4 separate regions of the Homo sapiens genome follow, and all the other regions are linked to region 1. The links are contacts of gene promoters, found by promoter capture Hi-C in human tissues and cell types (Jung and others, 2019). All regions are on one chromosome and are shown on one strand. Each heading gives the region's core, a stretch centred on a gene start or on the middle of the fragment in contact. The rest is flanking DNA. Distances are from core to core; before and after follow the strand shown.

What was found. The method cuts DNA at HindIII sites, captures the fragments that hold promoters and counts their contacts. A contact is called where the count stands out against the background at its distance.
Region 2: a contact is called between a fragment that was not itself captured here and the fragment with the promoter of PLK1 in region 1, in 1 of the 25 tissues and cell types used here (dorsolateral prefrontal cortex).
Region 3: a contact is called between a fragment that was not itself captured here and the fragment with the promoter of PLK1 in region 1, in 2 of the 25 tissues and cell types used here (dorsolateral prefrontal cortex and lymphoblastoid cells).
Region 4: a fragment that was not itself captured here is called in contact with the fragment with the promoter of PLK1 in region 1 in 2 of the 25 tissues and cell types used here (hippocampus and lymphoblastoid cells).

The regions. Positions count from the first base shown.
Region 1 is chr16:23,677,455-23,680,645 of GRCh38, forward strand. PLK1 (polo like kinase 1) reads left to right here and starts at 1,435. Exons shown (of 10, transcript NM_005030.6): 1 at 1,435-1,886; 2 at 2,630-2,798. The coding sequence starts at 1,479. It overlaps DCTN5 (dynactin subunit 5), which reads left to right. Exons shown (of 6, transcript NM_032486.4): 6 at 1-18. The HindIII fragment of the contact is 4,791 bases long and covers 1-2,071 here.
Region 2 is chr16:24,149,009-24,152,199 of GRCh38, forward strand. All of the region lies in intron 9 of PRKCB (protein kinase C beta), which reads left to right. Among named protein-coding and RNA genes, the nearest start is that of MIR1273H, 53 kb to the right of the region's middle. The HindIII fragment of the contact is 4,819 bases long and covers 1-3,191 here.
Region 3 is chr16:24,068,526-24,071,716 of GRCh38, forward strand. All of the region lies in intron 5 of PRKCB (protein kinase C beta), which reads left to right. Among named protein-coding and RNA genes, the nearest start is that of MIR1273H, 130 kb to the right of the region's middle. The HindIII fragment of the contact is 4,818 bases long and covers 1-3,191 here.
Region 4 is chr16:23,966,333-23,969,523 of GRCh38, forward strand. The region is part of intron 2 of PRKCB (protein kinase C beta); the gene reads left to right. Among named protein-coding and RNA genes, the nearest start is that of PRKCB, 130 kb to the left of the region's middle. RefSeq lists an enhancer at 1,650-1,779. The HindIII fragment of the contact is 6,673 bases long and covers 1-3,191 here.

The DNA of each region.
Region 1 (3,191 bases), core at 185-2,684:
TATAGGGGTACAAAATAACTTAATTTTTCAAAGTCTTCCTTTTATTCAGCCAACATTTTAGTAAGTACCCTTTTTTTTTTACCAAGCACTGCTCTGGGAGCTTGGGACATGGGGTAGAAAGGACGGCATCATTGTCCTCATTGTCCTTCAGCTTAGCTGCAAGGCAGGTGAAGGATGCTTATAGTATGGTTGATTTTTGCTGGGCTCTATGAAGGATCAGAGGGTGCTAAGGAGGCACAGAGAAAGAGCTTTTAACGTGGGTATTTTACTGTTCCAGGGTTGCCACTCAAGTACCTACAGAACAAACGGGTGTAGCTGTAAACTGTGGCAAACTGAAAGCATGTAGGCACAGAGTAAGTAGCTAGAGCTGATTTTTTTCAGGAAAGGCCACAAATCCCAACTTTTATGAGCTCCTCTTTTAAATGCTGTAAATGTTTTACAATGGCGGGGCGCGGTGGCTCACGCCTGTAATCCCAGCATTTGGGAGGCCGAGGGGCAGATCACTTGAGGTCAGGAGTTCAAGACCAGCCTGGCCAACATGGTGAAACCTCTTCTCTACTAAAATTACAAAAATTAGCCGGGCATGGTGGTGCATGCTTGTAATTCCAGCTGCTAGGGAGGCCGAGGCGGGAGGATTGCTTGAACCCGGGAAGCAGAGGTTGCAGTGAGCTGAGATCGTGCCACTGCACTCCAGCCTGGGCGACAGAGCAAGATTCCGTCACACACACAAAAAAAAGGCGTGGGGGGAGGCCAAACAAAACCCCGCAAGACACATTTGGCTATGACCTGCCAGTTTGCTAGGCATTCTTCCAACCTTCCCTCCCTCTGACCAAGAAACTGAGTGTCCACTATTTTAGGCCCTGGGAAATTCAGTAGCGAGGAGGCCAGACAGCTTCGTTGCATCATGGGGGGCTCTGGTACTGTGCTTCTCCAACTTCAGGATGTGTAGGAATCACCTGAGCAGTCTTGTTGAGAGGCGGACACTGACTCGGGAGGTCTGGGGTAGGGCCTGAACGTTTGCCTTTGCGGTTCTAACAAGCTCTCAGGTGATGGCGATGCTACTGTTCCCTGGCCCCGAGGTAGAGGAAGATTTAAGTAAAAGCTTCCTGGAGGAGGCGCAAGTGAACCGCAGGAGCTTTCCCGGACGCCCGAGAAAGGGAGAAACCCCGAAGGAATTCCTCCTCTCTCGGGGCTGGGTCTCCGCATCCACGCCGGGTTTGGTTTCCCAGGCTATCCCACGTGTTCGGGCGTCCGTGTCAATCAGGTTTTCCCCGGCTGGGTCCGGGTTTAAAGGCTGCTGCTGCGCAGGGCGCTCCCATGGTGCCGCGCGGCGGGCGGGTTTGGATTTTAAATCCCCGCGGCCAATCAGTGGCGCGCAGGCTTTTGTAACGTTCCCAGCGCCGCGTTTGAATTCGGGGAGGAGCGGAGCGGTGCGGAGGCTCTGCTCGGATCGAGGTCTGCAGCGCAGCTTCGGGAGCATGAGTGCTGCAGTGACTGCAGGGAAGCTGGCACGGGCACCGGCCGACCCTGGGAAAGCCGGGGTCCCCGGAGTTGCAGCTCCCGGAGCTCCGGCGGCGGCTCCACCGGCGAAAGAGATCCCGGAGGTCCTAGTGGACCCACGCAGCCGGCGGCGCTATGTGCGGGGCCGCTTTTTGGGCAAGGGCGGCTTTGCCAAGTGCTTCGAGATCTCGGACGCGGACACCAAGGAGGTGTTCGCGGGCAAGATTGTGCCTAAGTCTCTGCTGCTCAAGCCGCACCAGAGGGAGAAGATGTCCATGGAAATATCCATTCACCGCAGCCTCGCCCACCAGCACGTCGTAGGATTCCACGGCTTTTTCGAGGACAACGACTTCGTGTTCGTGGTGTTGGAGCTCTGCCGCCGGAGGGTGAGTGTCGCTGCTGGGGAACTGGAACTGCCTGCGGGGCAGTTGGAGCGCCCAGACCTGGAGCTGCTGGAAAGAGTACCCAGCAAGGGAGAGCCTGGGACTTGGAGCTGCTAGAGAAGGGTGCTGGGAGCCTCCCGCTTACGTATGGAAAGTGTCTTTGGTAAGGGCTTCTTGGCTCTGGGAGCTGCTAGAGGAGGGGGTTCCAGTGAAGTGGAGTCTGAGTCATGTTGCTGATAGGGAAGTCAGCTTCTGGACGCGAGGTGCTGGGGGGAGGGGTGCTGGTAATGGACGCTAGGGCCCTGGAGTACCCAGGGAGGAGTCCCAGGTTAGTGATGCCGCGCCCTGGGAGCTTCTGGGGTGGAGCTGGGTCAGTGGGGGGGTAGTTGGAGCCAGACTTCGGGCCTTCCGGGGGAGATACGAGTCAGGAAAGGGATCTGGTGCTGGGGACTCGGAGCTTCCGGAGTGGGGCTGAGAGAGGACCCCCAGGTAAGGGGGGAAGCTAGTAGGAGAAGGGGTGCTGCGAATGGTTGTGGACAGTGTTAAGGCAGGGTCCAGATGCCGCTGTGCTGGAGAAGGAATGGGGTGGGGGCATAGGGAAGGAGAGAAACCCACCAAGACCCCTCTTTCATCCCTTGGGAGTCCAGAGTCCAGTCCTGTGCTTCCTTTGCCTGGTAACCCTCTCCCTTCCCCACCGGCCTCAATCCACCTCCCCATCCCTCCTGCCCTCTCCTTCCCACCCACAGTCTCTCCTGGAGCTGCACAAGAGGAGGAAAGCCCTGACTGAGCCTGAGGCCCGATACTACCTACGGCAAATTGTGCTTGGCTGCCAGTACCTGCACCGAAACCGAGTTATTCATCGAGACCTCAAGCTGGGCAACCTTTTCCTGAATGAAGATCTGGAGGTGAAAATAGGTGAGTTGCTGAGCCTGCAGGGGTGCTTGACATCACTACAAGAGGCTGGAATTTGGAGGAGGCTGGGAGAAAGGAAGGAGACAACCCACAAGTCAGTATCTTGCCTACAGATGCATTATTTTTTTGTGCCCCAATGCAATATTTTTTTTTTACAAAGAATTTGAATTTGTTTTTATTTTTTAAATTGGAAGGTTTGATTGAACAAAAAGTTTGATTCAGAACTCCTTTTAAACAGGTGAAAGCTTCAGTAATACGAGGACAGCATTTTCTTAGGGCAGCCCTTTGCTGGGCTGGAAAACAGCTGTCCCCTTCAGACTTCTTTGCCACAGTCTCTACTCCTCCCTATTCTTCACAGACTTGCCAAGTCTTGGAGGTTAACTTGCTTGATCCTTG
Region 2 (3,191 bases), core at 388-2,887, 470 kb after region 1:
GAATGATCACTGGTTGGTTGTGGCTTGAGGTTTTTCCTGCACTGGCTGGAGCACCTGGGGCTGCCTGGTCATCAAGCTTATCAGGTAGTACCAGGGTTTCTTCATGGGGTCTTGTTCCCTGGTCTAGCATTGTGTCTTGGGGTAGAAAGGAAAGAAACTGACAGAAGCTACAGCCTCAGAAGTCTTGCAGGGTCTCTTCACCACATTCTGTTCATTAAGGCAGCCGCAGTGCCTGCCCAGGTTCAGAGACTCTGGCTCTGATTGGAGGAGTATCAAATATTTGTAGACATGTTTTAAAACCTCTATAAAGTATCACTTCCTTCGTGCTATGGGGACAGCTCTCAAAATGTAACTCCAAGAGAGGACAGAGAGATTTATATCGAAAATGAAAGCTTGATTAGAATATTAAGAAGAAAAGGAAAGTTTTCTCTCATCCTATTAATGACTGCTGAGAAAGTGTTAGGAAAATCAGGATGGAAGGATTCTGTCAGCTTTACCTACTGACATCTCCTAGCCACCTTATTAAATGAATCAATTTTGATAATATCTGGTGATTATAATCAACATAGGAAGAATATGTTTATTAAAATGCAGACTCCCAGGTCACAGCCCAGAGCTCCTGAAGGAGAGGGAGTGCTTGGAATCTATATGGTAAGCAAAGACCCTCAAGTGATTCTGACATAGGCAAGAGGCACTGTCCTTTATAAAGACTGGAATTTGCCTTGTTTTAGGTCACATACTGACATGATGCTACTTGGCTTCATGTATTTTAATTATTAGTAAGAATTTGAGCTACCTATGTAATAATTTTGTTTTAGGGATCTCTAAGATACATAATCCATTCAAAGTAATATAAATAAAAATAACTTTATTGGAGGAACATAAAGGTTTCAAACAGAAAATGGCTAAGCCTCATGAGAGATTGGAAACTGAAAGCAAGGCCTCTGCTTGTTCTCTTACCTTCTTTGTTTTTTTCCCCCTGCCTCAAACATCTATTTTATTCCTCTTTGCCTGCACAGTGGTAGAAAAGGACCACGCTAGGCTGAGTGTGGTGGCTTACGCCTGTAATCCCAGCACTTTGGGAGACCTAGATGGGCGGATCACTGAAGGTCTGGAGTTTGAGAACAGCTGGGGCAACATGGTGAAACCCCATTTCTACTAAAAATACAAAAATTAACCAGGTGTGGTGGTGGACGCCTGTAATCCCAGCTACTTGGGAGGTTGAGGCAAGAGAATTGCTTGAACTCGGGAGGAGGTGAACGAAGATCATGCCACTGCACCCCAGCCTGGGCAACAGGGTGAGAATCTGTCTCAAAAACGAAAAACAGAAAACAAAACAAAACAAAACAAAAAAGGACCACTCTAGGAAGATCTGTGTATTCTCTGTTGAGGGACCCAGGACTGACTCCTCAGAGTACCCTAATTCAAATTCTTGGGAGGGGGAATCCGATTGGCTTGGCTCAGGTTGAGGAACTTACCTCTGATCCAATCAGCTGTGACCAGCTGTATCCACTGCCCAATCAGAAGGTTCTTCTAATAACACAGAGTTGGAAGAAGTGAAAGGCATGCTAGGGTTTTCATTTCCAAATTAAACTGCAGTCATTTTTTATCATGTGGTTACTCTTATTTTCCCTGATCTTCTTGAAACACTTGTTGCAAAACAAGGGTCAGCAAACTATTGGAGCCCAGGCTATTGCTTATTGTTGTAAATAAAGTTTTATTAGACTACGGCCACACTCATTCTCTTGATCCAGACCGTCCCGCAAAGCCTATAATATTTCCTGTTTGGCCCTTTATAGAGAAAGTGTCCTGACTCCTGCTCTAGAATTCAGTTCGCTTCTATGTCTAAATTTTTGCTATGCCTTATGCATGCCCGTTCTGTTTTCCGTTAATCAGTATAGGGCATGTTGTTGAGGGCAGGGCAAGACACTGGGAATCTTCACACACCCCTGTTTATTGATTTTTAAAACTATCTGTACAAATGCAATAGTATCTCCTACGATGCGGAGCACATAGCATTGCTGATTTGCAAGAAGATTTCAACTGCTACTTGAGATTGTTTTAGGTGCCGTGTAGTTGCACTATGAAATAAAATTAAATCACGTTATGATAAGGTTATTTCTGTGTCTCCTTTTACTCTTTCTAATTACTTGAACAAGCAAATCTCATTTGATGACAATATGCTCTCTAACAACTTTCTAATACAATTTTTTCCTTTAACAAGGAGAAGATGCAGAGCCTGACTCAGAACCTTCAGCAGCCAGCAGTATATAGCTAGAATTTACTGGCACCGCTTTGCTTTTATTTATTTTTATGCTTATCTTCCATTTATGACTTGTGATACTGGCTTGCCATTAATAGTGGTGATATAAAGTTTCCTTTTCAAATTTAGTTAAGTTGAAATGTGACTAGATTTTTAAAATGCTAAGCAAATAACAGTTTAGGTGGCAGGAAGAAATGTGAAAAAACGGATATGAATGATTGAAGTGCGGAAATGCCTGAGCTACAGTAACTGACATAGTTACAAAGCAGCCCTGGTGCCCAGAGGAGGTAGTGGCCGATTTGGTCTGAATGGAACCTCCAGATTAGAGGAGGAGATAACAGCCCAGTGGAATCTCAGATTTTCAAAGCAGTGCAAGAGCATGGAAGGACGTCATAGACAGTGGGAGTCGAATGTTCAAAGGAAAAGAAAGAACAGGATGTGGTCATGGAATTGTTTGGCTTTCAAGAGCCACTGAAGGGCTTTCAGCATTCAAGTGGCACAGTCAGAGCTGCATTTTCAGAACAGTCATTAGCTGAAGCAAGTTAATCTCCCTGAGCCTCAGTGTGTTTATCTACGAAATGGGGGTAATTGACACAGATGTAGGATGTCCACCCCTGTCCCTGGTGAAGGGGGAAATTCCCAGCCATTCTGCCCTGTCTCTCTTCCATGTGGAAGGCTAAGATGTCCTATCATGACTGCATCTGCACTGAAGGTGTCTAGGGCCCCTCCTTCTCTCGTTTTGGTTGGGGGAATGGGAGATAGTTGCAGATATTCAGGATTGTTGGATGGTGCCTTGACCGGTGGTGATGGGTCAGGGAGAGTGTATTAGTCCGTTTTCATGCTGCTGATAAAGACATACCCGAGACTGTGTAATTTATGAAAAAGAGGTTTAATGGACCTGGGGAGGCCTCAATCATGGTGGAAGGCT
Region 3 (3,191 bases), core at 231-2,730, 390 kb after region 1:
AATTCCTTCAAAATTCCAGTTTCTTGAAAAATATTTTTTATCTGGCTTTTATAGTTGCTCTCAGTGGGAGAGCTACTTTATCATTGCCCCAAGTGGTATGATATTAAATAAAAATATAAAATACAAAATAGATTTAGAGTGGTATAATTATGTAAAAATTGAATGTTAACATGGAAAAAGACCAGAAGGTGAATATACAAATGAAAGCATTTATTTAATTTTGGGATAAGATCTAAGGTAATATTTGTTTGGTTCAGAAAATTATTTTTAAAGAAGGGTGTTGTGAGCATCAGTGATAGAGTGAGGAATCCTCATTTCTTTCAGATCCTGGTAGGGGACCCTGAGAACTTTGGGGAGTGAAGATAGTGAAGTAAAGGTTGCTAAGCATTCTGCTAGAACACTATGGAGACAGCGATATAAAATAAGAGCCAATAATAACAAAGTAGCACATAGTGAATGTTTACCATATGCCAGACATTCTATTAATTTATAATGATTGTAACATTCCTATGAGCCAACATCCTTATCATTAGCCCCATTTTTTAAACAAGGAGACTGAGTTACCGAGAAGTTAGGTAACTTTCAGGTCACAAAGCTGCTCTATGGCAGAGCTGATCTGCCAGGATCTCTGGGTTTAAGCTCCTCACCATCACACTTGACTAATTTGGTATAGAAAGTGGCTTTAGATCAGATAAGGGTACATGAAATGCAGGAGGTGCCGTGTTAGAGGACAGTTTGGTCCAGTCCCCATGTCCTGGGGCAAATGAAGCAGATGGCCTCAGAACAGCCTGTTTTTAAATCATGTAAGACTGACTTCTTTCAGCTGCTGGATTCCTGCCTCCCAGAGTGAGACGTTGAAGTTTGGCCCGGAAGAGGCTGAGCACTGGGGACGAGCAGTGCTGTGCTGTGTATAGAGTGCTTAAAACAGTGCCTGGGTCTGAGCGTGGTGGCTCATGCCTGTAATCCCACCTCTTTGGGAGGCCATGGTGGGAAGATTGCTTGAGCCCAGGAGTTTGATTTCAGCCTGCAACATAGTGAGACCCCATTTCTACAAAAAATTTTAAGAAGTAGTCAGGCATGGTCGTACACCTGTAGTCCCAGCTACTTGGGAGGCTGAGGTGGGAGGATCACTTGAACCCCAAAGGTTGAGGCTGCAGTGAGTCGTGATTGCACTACTGTACTCCAGCCTGAGTAACAAAGCAAGACTTTGTATCAAAACAAAACAAACAAAACAAAACAGTGCCTGGCATATAGTATGTGCTCAATAAAAGTTGTCATTGTTATTGTCATGACATCATCAGAGCCTAGAACAAATCACAAAACCTGTATATTCTCTCTGGGCTGGAGGTCTTAAGATTCTTCTCCATTCCCAACGGGTACTCCCGAGATGACGTGATTCATGGCCATTCCTTCCTTCCTTCAGTGTGTGGCTCACACTGTGCTGGGCTATGGCGTCACCACTGTCAATACGACAAATAAATGGATAATTACAGCAAAGTGTTAGGACTGCTGTGCCAGACACGAGTGCAAGGTGTCCTGGGCAACCAGGGAAGGGACGTTAACTTACACTGGGATTGGGGCCCTGTGATGGTAAGCTTTTCATCTTGCAGGAAACCAGGGGATTTTTTTTTTTTTTTTTTTGAGACAAGGTCTTGCTCTGTCGTCCAGGCTGGAGTGCAGTGGCACGATCTTGGCTCACTGCAACCTCTGCCTCCTGGGTTCAAGCGATTCTTGTGCCTCAGTCTCCCAAGTAGCTGGGATTACAGGCATGTGCCATCACTCTTGGCTAATCTTTGTATTTTCAGTAGCGACGGATTTTTGCCATCTTGGCCAGGCTGGTCTCAAACTCCTGACCTCAAGTGATTCGCCTGCCTCAGCCTCCCAAAATGCTGGAATTACAGGCATGAGCCGTTGCGCCCGGCCTTGAAACCAGGGAATTTAATGACATTTAAAAATCATTTATTAAGTATATATGAAATATATAGAAAATAGTATCCCAGGCACCTAATAGAACAGAATAATAATAATGACTAGGAGTTGTTGAGTGTAAAATAGGTTGCAGTCATTACAACGCATATAATAGCATGAAGTATATAGCTCCTCAGCCCTCTCAGCCATCTTATGAGGGAACACTGTTGCTATTCTCATATTACAGATGAGGAAACTGAGGCTCAGAGAGGTTAAGTAATCCTCCAAGCCTCCGCAGCCAGGAAGTGGTATCACTTTGAACTCAAACTCAGGTCTGTTTGATCCTGAGGCCAAGCCCTTGGCCAGAAAAATTAGGAAGTCATAGTCCCTTCCCTTAAGGAGCTCTATTTAATATAGCAGAACAAGTAAAGCAAGTACATATCTCTCTAAAGTATACTGTGTCACTGAAGATAAGAAAGGAAGAAATCCTGTGATGGGTCAGATGAAGTCAGGAAAGGCTTCTGGGAAGAGGTGGCCTTATAGATCTAACTAGAAGGATGAATGAGCTTTGGGCCAAAGGCAAGGGAGGGAACCATCTGGACAAAGGGTAGTTAGTACACACTGTGACCTGAAGAGGGAGCTCAAAGCCCCCCTCCACTCCAGGGCTGATGTGAGGATGTGAGTTAAGGACTTGGATGCTGCTCTTGGGGCTTTCAGAGATAGGGGAGGAGCTTAATGACCTCGTCTTCATGATATACCCTAAGCATTCTCTCTTGGCTTTCCATTTGAGACTTACTCTGCCTTCAGACCTCTCAGAACTCTGCATATCTGGTATGGTAAGAGGAGCCTGAGCTACCTCTTCTCTGCATTGCCTTGAAAACAAAACATGGCCGGGCACGATGGCTGACGTCTGTAATCCTAGCACTTTGAGAGGCCAAGGCGGGTGGATCGCTTGAGCTCAGGAGTTTGAGACTAGCCTGGGTAACATGGTGAGACCCTGTCTAAAAAAAAAAAAAAAAAAAAAAAAAAGACAAACAGGACTGGGGAAAAGGAATAAGAGGAGCCCGTCCAACCTTCCAATTTCCACCAATTTTAATGTGGATCCAGAATTGAGAATGCTAGTCTAGCTCAACTCAACAGGGCCAGTGGTTCTACTTGTGATTGGGGGTAAAGGTCCTAGGGTAGTAAAGAGAGTGAGTACCTGCCTGGCTTGTCCGCTCTGCACATGTCTCTGGGCAGTAGCTGTGGGATGTGGTCCTGGACACTAGATCCCATCTGTCTCC
Region 4 (3,191 bases), core at 437-2,936, 290 kb after region 1:
GAATAGACTGCCTGGATTTGAATGCTGCCTTCACCTCTTTCTGGTGTGTAATCTTGGACAAGTTACCTTCTTTCTCAGTGCCTCAGTTTCCTCTTCAGTACAATAAGGATAATAATAAGACCTACCACATAGCTGTAGAGAGGATTAAAGGAGCCAATATGTGGAAAGTATTTACAACAGTGTACTGCATAGTAGCTTTTCTATAAGTGATTATTATTATTATCCCTTCGAATCTAAAATCCCTCTAGTTTGTTTCAGAGGAGCAAGGATTGTGTCTCGCCTGCCTTTAAATCCCTTTAAGTTGGGTGTCTCAAGCCCAACCATCTGCAGGAGACTAGAAGGGGACTTACATGAGTGAATTGAATCAGGTGTGGATTTCTGTGAACTAGAGAATGCAAGGCTGTCTGAAAGGGGAACTATTCCTTATTCATGCATCACATATACACTGGTGTGCCAAGCCCTGTTCTGCATCTGGGGACACAGCAGAGAATGAACCGGGCAAAATTCCCTGCCCCCTTGGAGTTGATGTTGTAGTGGACTAAGCTCTGATGACTCTGTTGCTGCATGAGAATGTGGGCCCACTGCTGACAAAACTTCTGATTTTTCTGTAAGAAAAGCCGGAAACCTGGATTTGTAAAAACCGTGAACTCTCCTAGCTTAAGAATTGGCAGTGGTTTCCATTTTTTTTTTTTTTTAAAGCACAGTACATGCTGTGAACCCAAGAGCCAGTTTGCAGCCCCTGCCTTAAGACACTCCTCTAATTGCTCTGGGAGGAGGCCTGTCTCTGCCCTGCAAATCAGCAGCTGGTCGGATTTCAAGGTCGTTGGTGTGGAGGGCGCCTCCTCCCTCTCCTGCGTGGAGGTTATTGTGGCTTTTTCTGCCCACAGAGCAGATGACGCTGCCACCAGGCAGTGAGTTAGAATATTCCTTCTCTTATCCTTCCTTTTGGATGGTGGCCTTGGCTGGGTTCCCAGCCCCCTGACAGCAGAAGACAAAAGGATGGAAGCAGCTTCCTCATAGTCACCCATGGGGGCGATAGGGTGGTGATGGTGATGTGGAGAAAATGCATTGGGTCAGGACAGCCACCTTTGAAGCCAGAAAATTAATGATCTCTGTTGCCTGAATCTTTTCAAAGTGGAGAAGTAATTTAAAAGCTTGTGTGGGAAGGATTGAGAATGGGATTGAGAAAAGAAGTTTAGGTTGCTATCAGGAACAATTCCTAACAGCAGGAGGTTTTTGGAGAGGCAGTGGTGAAATTCCTTGGAAATTTTTGTGTGGTGTCTTTTTTTCTTTTTTCTTTCTTTCTTTCCTCTTTTTTGTTTTTGTTTTTCTTTTTTTGAGATAGAGTCTCATTCTGTCACATAGGCTGGAGTGCAATGGCACAACCCCGGCCCACTGCAACCTCCACCTCCCAGGTTCAAGAGATTCTCCTGCCTCAGCCTCCCGAGTAGCTGGGACTACAGGCACCCGCCACCATGCCCAGCTAATTTTTGTATGTTTAGTAGAGACAGGGTTTTGCCTTGTTGGCCAGGTTGGCCTTGAACTCCTGACCTCAAGTGAGGTCCACCTGCCGTGGCCTTCCAAAGTGTTTGGATTATAGGCGTGAGCCACTGCGCCGGGCCTTTTATGGTGTCTTTGAAGTGCTTGTTTAAATTTACATGTGGTTGCCTCTCAGTGGGGTGCATGCTCTCTGGTTTTCCCCAAGCCCCACCACTCCCTGTTGTGCTTTACCCACTTGCCTGACTTAGTTATGCTTACTGGCCTGGCCTTTGTGGGTCTTTGAGTTTGTGCCTTCTGCTCTGAAGGAAGCATGCTTGAGATGATGGAATCTAGGTTCAAACCTACCTGCCCTATCTGCCCTTTACTGACTTGTGTGACTGTGGACAAGTTCCTCCACCCCTGAGGTTGTCAGGACCCTGCAGGAAATAGAACCATTCAGGTGGCTGCAAGAAGAAAGTTTCATGAAAGGACTATTTAGGGAGACTTGGGCAAGGTTAAGATTACAAATAAGGAATGTGGAAGCACCTAGGGCCTTGCAACAGCAGGAGGCGGTTACCGTCTGTAAAGAGGAAGAAGCAAGCGGAGGGAATAGTTTGGAGCCTATTGAGAGCTGGGGCTAAGAAGGAAGGCATCGCCAGCAGGAACCATGGTCCTGGAGGGATGAACCGCTTCCCAAATAGCAGTACCGAGGCAGGGAGGAAGAGGGGGAAGAAACACCCCAGCTTCTCTTCACCTCTCCCATTGCCTGTTGGCCTCACCCACTGGCTGAACCCAGCTGGAAACCAGAAGGACCAGATGATGAATTCTGTAAGGGTCAGCCTTTTGGGGCTCAGCTCACAGCAGAATCAGAGAGAAAAAAATGGATCTGAGAGGTGAAACAAGGAACAAGCAGCACGTAACTCTCAGCTTCCCTACCTTGAAAGTGGAGGAGAATGAGATAACTGACCTTGGAAGGTTATTGGGTGGCTCATGTACTCTCGAAGGGAAGGGCCTGGTCAATATTAAGTACTCATAAATGCTGAGATTCAGTGTGGGTTTCAAACCGTTTCTAGGAGCTAAAGGTCCTGAGAAAGGGCTTCAGTTTCAGTATCAAGAGACATTCTCAGGTGGGCAGATCTCTTGAAGCCAGGAGTTCGAGACCAGCCTGCCCATCATGGTGAGACCCCATCTCTACTAAAAATACAAAAATTAGCTGGATGTGGTGGTGGGTGCCTGTAATCCAAGCTACTCAGGAGGCTGAGGCAAGTGAATTGCTTGAACCTGGGAGGCGGAGGTTGCAGTGAGCTGAGATCGCGCCACTGCACTCCAGCCTGGGCGACAGGGTGAGACCCTGTCTCAAAAACCAAAACCAAAAAGACATTCTCCTCCTTCCCCTGCAGTGGGGCCCACTGGGAATGGTTGCATCTTCCATGGGGAGTTTAAAGTGAATGTGTAGTGGCTAAGAGCAAAGACCCTAGAACCAAGTAGGTGGACACTGTGGTAGTCCATCAGTGTGGTAGACACTGATCTTTCTGTTACTATAGATTAATGGCCTTGTACAGTATGCACTATTTTGTGTCTGCCTTCTTTCACTTAAAATAATGTTTTTGAGACTCACGCATGCATGTGCCTGTATTGGAGTCTATTGAGAGCTGGTTTCCAGTCCTGATTGCCACTGACAGTCAAGTTACTTAACTTTTCATGCCTTATTT